Linked DNA regions of Homo sapiens: region 1 is linked to region 2. Evidence: promoter capture Hi-C in 16 types of primary human blood cells and fetal thymus (Javierre and others, 2016). All regions are on one chromosome and are shown on one strand. Each heading gives the region's core, a stretch centred on a gene start or on the middle of the fragment in contact. The rest is flanking DNA. Distances are from core to core; before and after follow the strand shown. Region 1 overlaps CAMTA1 (calmodulin binding transcription activator 1). Region 2 holds the start of DNAJC11 (DnaJ heat shock protein family (Hsp40) member C11).

What was found. The method cuts DNA at HindIII sites, captures the fragments that hold promoters and counts their contacts. A CHiCAGO score of 5 or more calls a contact.
Region 1: a fragment that was not itself captured here is called in contact with the fragment with the promoter of DNAJC11 in region 2 in 1 of 17 cell types (megakaryocytes); the score reaches 7.0 in megakaryocytes.

The regions. Positions count from the first base shown.
Region 1 is chr1:7,221,361-7,224,354 of GRCh38, reverse strand. The region is part of intron 4 of CAMTA1 (calmodulin binding transcription activator 1); the gene reads right to left. Among named protein-coding and RNA genes, the nearest start is that of CAMTA1-IT1, 140 kb to the left of the region's middle. RefSeq lists an enhancer at 1-27. The HindIII fragment of the contact is 1,754 bases long and covers 868-2,621 here.
Region 2 is chr1:6,700,257-6,703,235 of GRCh38, reverse strand. It overlaps DNAJC11 (DnaJ heat shock protein family (Hsp40) member C11), which reads left to right and starts at 1,420. Exons shown (of 16, transcript NM_018198.4): 1 at 1,420-1,507. The coding sequence starts at 1,436. RefSeq lists a silencer at 1,184-1,633. The HindIII fragment of the contact is 16,969 bases long and covers 1-2,979 here.

The DNA.
Region 1 (2,994 bases), core at 495-2,994, 520 kb before region 2:
AGAGCCTGCAGAGCGGTGCAAATTTAGGCCATCCAGTGGAAAGCTCACCAAGCGCCTCGGCCACTGGGCACAGCCTGACCTTGAGCAGCGATTATGTTTCCAGCTAAGCCTGCAGCCTCTCCTGCAGTAAAAGGAGACTGACAAGACCTAAGGCCTCCACCTGGCAGAGCATCATTCTCCCTCCCATCGGGTGAGGTCCAGGATGGCTTGAGCACTCTGGCTTTATGTAAAGGTGCTACAAACGTTAAGGTGCCCCATCCTTTATACAACTGCATGTCATGTGGGTTCATGGTAGTGATTATGATTAAGATTAGTCTGTGGTCATTACACACCCAGAAGATCTCTGGTCATCTGGGGTGATCGAGTTATTCAGCAATCTTCCACCCCGCCCTCTAACAACTGCAGTGAAGATGGGATGATACCTTCGTTAAATATCCCATAGGCCCCAAGGTAAACCTGAGAACTAATAAATACATGTAAATACATCTAATAAAATAAAATTTGAGATTAAAAGGAATCTCGCTTGCATATTCATGAACCACGTGGAAACTCAAATGAGCTCTTCTAAGCTCCTTATTCATGGTGAGTCAGAGATTTAACACATGCTGGGAAGATTGCTTAGCAAATATAAGCCTGGCAATGGCACATGCATCCATGAATTCATCGGACAAGTATTTATTAACTGTCCCTTTGCATTACTATTTATGTTGCATATTCATCCCTCTTTGCAAACCCAGGGCCTCATATAAATGGCAGGCACTCACCTGTTGACGATGCTGGTGTTCTGAGGCCCTAGAAAGCACAACCCCTGGCCTCAGGTTGCTTATATCTGCTCAAGGAGGTAAGAGTCACTTCCTCTATGAAGCTTTCCTGACCCCTCAGGACCCTGTTAGGTGACCCTAGTATCCATTTCTCAAGACTCTCCCTGTTAGCACCTACCTCCCATCACACACTCACACACACATACACACACGCATGCATACACTCACACACATACGCACACAATCACACATACACATACTCACACGCACATGCACCTGTTCCATTGTCTCTATCCTCTCCTGCACTAAGTTTAGGGTAGGGAGACACTGAATCTGCTTTGCTCACCCTAGCCTGACATACACATGTAGGAAACATTCAGTACATCACTGGATGAATGAAGCAAGAAATGAATGGTTGGATGGGTGGGTGGGTGGGTGGGTGGGTGGATCAACAGGTAAGTAAAGGCAAGGCAAAGGCCTAAGTTGTGGCCCAAGGAAAGATGTATGAGGGGGTGGCCCGCAAGGGCGAGAGGAACAAGAGCGTTGGTCATCAAGGGAAGAAGATCAAGAAAAAAAGGTTTGAGATCTTAAGGACAGTGAAGACTTGGCATTGGGTGAGTTGGTATTTTCTGGTCATTTCTGTGCCACACAGGGTGCCGGGCACCTCATGAGCATCACCCCGGATCCTCACAGCTGCACCTGAGGCAGATATACCCACGTAGAAGAGGAAGCTAGGCTTAGCAGGATAAGCTGGCACCACTGCAGAGCTGGCACGCGGCGAAGCCAGGATTGGAGACCAAGTGGGCCTGACCCAAGCTCTCTCCATGAAGACCAATGGGCATCCTCTGGCCCAGGGACCATTGCCATCAGGTGGGACCGTTGCCATCAGGAAAGAAGAGAGCGTGCTCCAGGAGGCAGCTCTGGGCAGTGCAGAGGGATGAAACAATCAATATGGTGGCTGGGCCCCTTGGAACAAAGAGAAAGGGCTGGGGCTGTCTAGGGAGGACTCAGGACTCATGACCCACTCCTGCCCACAGAAACATAACTCACTCTCCGCCTGAGCACAGCCACTATGTCATGGGGTGATGTAGAGCCAGGGAGGGAGGCAAGGACACGTTCCTAAATAATATCCTATTTTGTAGTCAACAGTCAGGCAAGAGGAAGGGAGAAAGAGGAGGGCAGGAAGACAGCGAGATGCAGAAAGGATTGAATGTTCCATGAGGATCAAATCTCAGCCTCCCCGCAGGTGCATTGAGACAGAAGACGCAGGTCCTCACAGCCAGAGGTGCTCATGGAACCAGCCCGGGCGATGTCTCATCACCCAGACGAGCACAGAAAAAGACAGGCTTGCAGGGTCCCACGGCCTGTCTGACACAATGCTCATGGGGTTTTCTCAAAAGCATCATCTATTTAGCTGATGGCCCCAAAGTGTTTCATTTAGCTGGAAATCGTGCTTGGTCCATTTCCCAGATCTCAGTGACATTATGAGAAGCCAGCAAAATGTGTCTGGCAGCAGAGCAGTTCAGCAACCCATCACCTCGAGTCACAGTCCTGTCGCCCCTGTTTGGAAAGCAGACAGTTCAGACGACTTCTAGAAGGCAGAGTCACTGCTGCCTCCCAGGCAACCGAGGACTACAGGAAGCCTGTGTGTGTGTGTGTGTGTGTATGTGTGTGTGTGTGTGTGTGTATGCACCAGCTTGTGCACATGCCCTCTGAAGGAAGGCAGGGGTCACCCATGGCACAAGGCAGTCACCATCCTCCCTGACCATGGGATAAAACTTTGCCATTCCTTTATCTTATTTAATCTTCCCACTAGGCAGGAATCATTATCCCCAAACTATTTCTGAGAAAGCCAAAGCTTAGCCGGTTCATGTGGCCCCAGCCCCACAGCCAGCAAGAAGCAGGGCTGAGACTGTAATTCAGCACTGTCTGAATCCAAAGGCCAGGCTCACACTGAGACCCCAGCGTTCCCCACCCCATTCCACGGGCCTGGAGAGGTGTTTCACGACGCATTCACTGGTCTGCCTGGTACCATATAAAGAAGAATCAAGTCCCATCACCAAAGAAATTTGCAGAATTCTCAGTGAACACAATGGAACAGGTCTGATTCTGGAGGGACTTCCTGGAGGCCTTCAAAGGCTAATGCACACTATGGAAACCCAAAAGCCGGAGCAATGGCTCTGCTCGTGAAAGCCCCCGAAGGCAAGACTCTGGGTGTGTTACCAACTCTCCG
Region 2 (2,979 bases), core at 171-2,670:
CACCGAAGTGTCTCATGCCAAAAGATCCTAAGAGGGCTGGGCAACTTGGAAGGGATGAGACACAGGCCCAGATGGTGCACATCTGGCCAAAAATTAGAAAGAGAAAGAAATCAGCCTCTCAAATCCACAGACAGGTGTTCGGGGCTTCCCAGGAGACCTGCTTATGAAGGGCAACGGGGATGGCTATGGACTGGTGGTTAGTGAAGGAACAACAAAGGTTTCTGAGACTTGCGCAGGTCAGCGGGAACCAAACAGGTGGCAAGAGTGGGCTGCTGTCCACCTTCCCTTGACAATGGCGTCATTTCGAAGACCTTTAAATTATTTAGATTGTTGTAACCAAGACATCTTTAATAATGCACCAAACAGCAGGCACCAGGTTGAAATCAATTAGACTCCACCGATAAATTATAAGGGAGAAATTTACAGGAGAATGGCTCTGGGGTAGGGACTGCAGGTACACATGCCTGCCAGAGACAATTATATCAGGAACCAAATAGTTATTGCTTTGTCATTTAAGCAGCAGAAAAGATGGCCAGGTGCTCCTAAATTAGAGCAATAACAAATAACTAAAATGAGGAGGCCTGTTCTGGGCAGGAAGGCTTCTGGGTGGCCAAGAGAAAAGACAATGGAGGTAGGAACAAATGTCATTTGGGGGATATCTAGGATCCGGATGCACCCTGCACTGGGGGCACCTCGCGCTTCTTCCAGGAGTTTGGGGCCAGTGGGGTAACAGGTGGTATCACAGGGGTTTGTCTCCCAGAGGATGACAATCTCCTGGAGGTGACTTCAAAGTTTCCCTTTCTAGGCAGGACGCGGTGGCTCATGCCTGTAATCCCAGCACTTTGGGAGGCCGAGGATCTCCTGAGTTCAGGAGCCTCAGACCAGCCTGGCCAACATGGTGAAACCGTGTCTCTACCAAAAATACAAAAAAATTAACTGGGCGTGGTGGCGCGCGCCTGGAGTCCCAGCTACTCGGGAGGCTGAGGCAGGAGAATCGCTTGAACCCGGGAGGTGGAGGCTTCAGTGAGCCGGGATTGCGCCACTGCACACACACCAGGCTGGGCGACAGAGTATGACTCCGTCTCAAAAAAAAAAAAAAAAAGCAAAGTTTCCCTTTCTAGTACAGGAAAAGCCCTAGGGAGTCCTGGCTGGATCTCAGGCCCCCGAGGACGCAGCCACGCCGCGTGCCACGCGTCCATTGGGAGCACGAAGAGACACCCGCGTGGTCACCCCGCCAGGGCTGCCTAGGCGCCGCGTCCCGCCCTAGGCCGCGCGGGGGCGCAAAGCGCAGGCGCACTCCCGCCGGGCGCGGACGGCTCCGGGCCGCCAGGGGCCGCTGTGGCGCAGCCGGGCTGGCCCGCGCTGTCCCTGACGCGGATCACTGGCCCCTCTTGAGCACGGCCTTGCCGGTTTGGCGGGGTGAAAGGTTGCGAAGATGGCGACGGCCTTGAGCGAGGAGGAGCTGGACAATGAAGACTATTACTCGTTGCTGAACGTGCGCAGGGAGGTGAGGCCAGCGGCTGGACGCTCTGGGGGCTGAGGCCGAGCCCGGTCGTTCGGGAGGGCCGGGCTGGCGGTGGCCGCCCCACCCCCGCCACGGGAGGCTCGGGTCCGTCGGGGAGGCCGCGTGACCCCGGCGACGTGCACGCCAGCCGCCCGATGGAGGCGTCCCCACCGCCCAGACCCTCCCGCCGGGGGTTCCGGGGCCAGCCTCCGCCCCAGCTCCTGAAGGCCAGTGCGCCGCGTGCACTGTGTCCGGGTAGGGCCAGAGGCCCCCGCACGCTCAAGAGGAAACGGGGGCCCCGAGGAGGCCACCGTAGTGGGGTTAGCAGTCCTCCGAGACCCCGTCTCGCGCTCAGCCCACATACTCGTCCTGGCTGAGGGGCTGTGTCATCGCCCGCCGCCAGCAGGATGGCGAACTGAGTCTCACCCACCAAGGTCAAGGCCACTAGGGAACGTCCTTAGGGCTTTTTCCGGTTCCCGAGTCTTTCGTGGGGACGCTCTGCCTCTGAAGTGGGTCCAGCCTCAGAGGCATGCGTCTCATGCCCTCTTTCATTCCCCTGGACCCGATGTCCAGAAATTGCAGGCAGAGCCTCCGGGACACAGACCCTCGGCTCGGAGGCTGCAGATTAGGAAGAAGCCCTAGGCCAGAAAAGTGGTGCCCTAACAACAGCTTCAACATTCACACCAAGCACTTGTACCCTGTCTCCTCAACGAATAAAAGATAACATGAGAGAGTCTCACATAGCCTGGCAGTAGTAGGGCCCCACTACACTCCTTTGTTCTTGACTAGTCTGGAGTTGAGATAGGTGTGAAGGGCGAGAAGGCTTCCAGGGTCAGGTCATGAGGTGGATCAGTTTCTTTAAGCCGATGGGTCCAGACTTTTCAGCCCTGCCAGAGAATTCCTAATTCCATCTCTCAGGTTTTCCAGTGGTAATGAAAGCTAGCCAAGTTTGGCTATGCTAACCAAAGCGGGTTCAGTGTGTGTTGTCAGTAAATATTAGTCTATGTGATGTTAATAATACAAACTTATCTTGTGTGGGACCACTATGCTGAATGAACTTTGTACTGTTATCTCATTTAATTCTGAGGATAGCTCTTAAGGTAAGTATTATGATAGCCCTTGATTTACACTTGAGGAAACCAAGGCATAGAGAGATTAAGTAGTGTGTCTAAAGTCACACTACTAGAAAGTGCAAGAGCCTGAACTCAACCCAGGCAGTCTGACTCTGGAGCCCAGCTTGTGAGCTCCATGCTAGTCTGTCACCTTACCTTACCAGTCCTTGGACTACAAAGCTGCTAGTTCTGGTACTGTATCCTTGAGTGTCACGCGCGTCCGTGTGAAGAGACCACCAAACAGGCTTTGTGTGAGCAATAAACCTTTTTAATCACCTGGGTGCGTATGGGCTGAGTCCGAAAAGAGAGTCAGCAAAGGGTGGTGGGATTATCATTAGTTCTTATAGGTTTGGGATAGGCGGT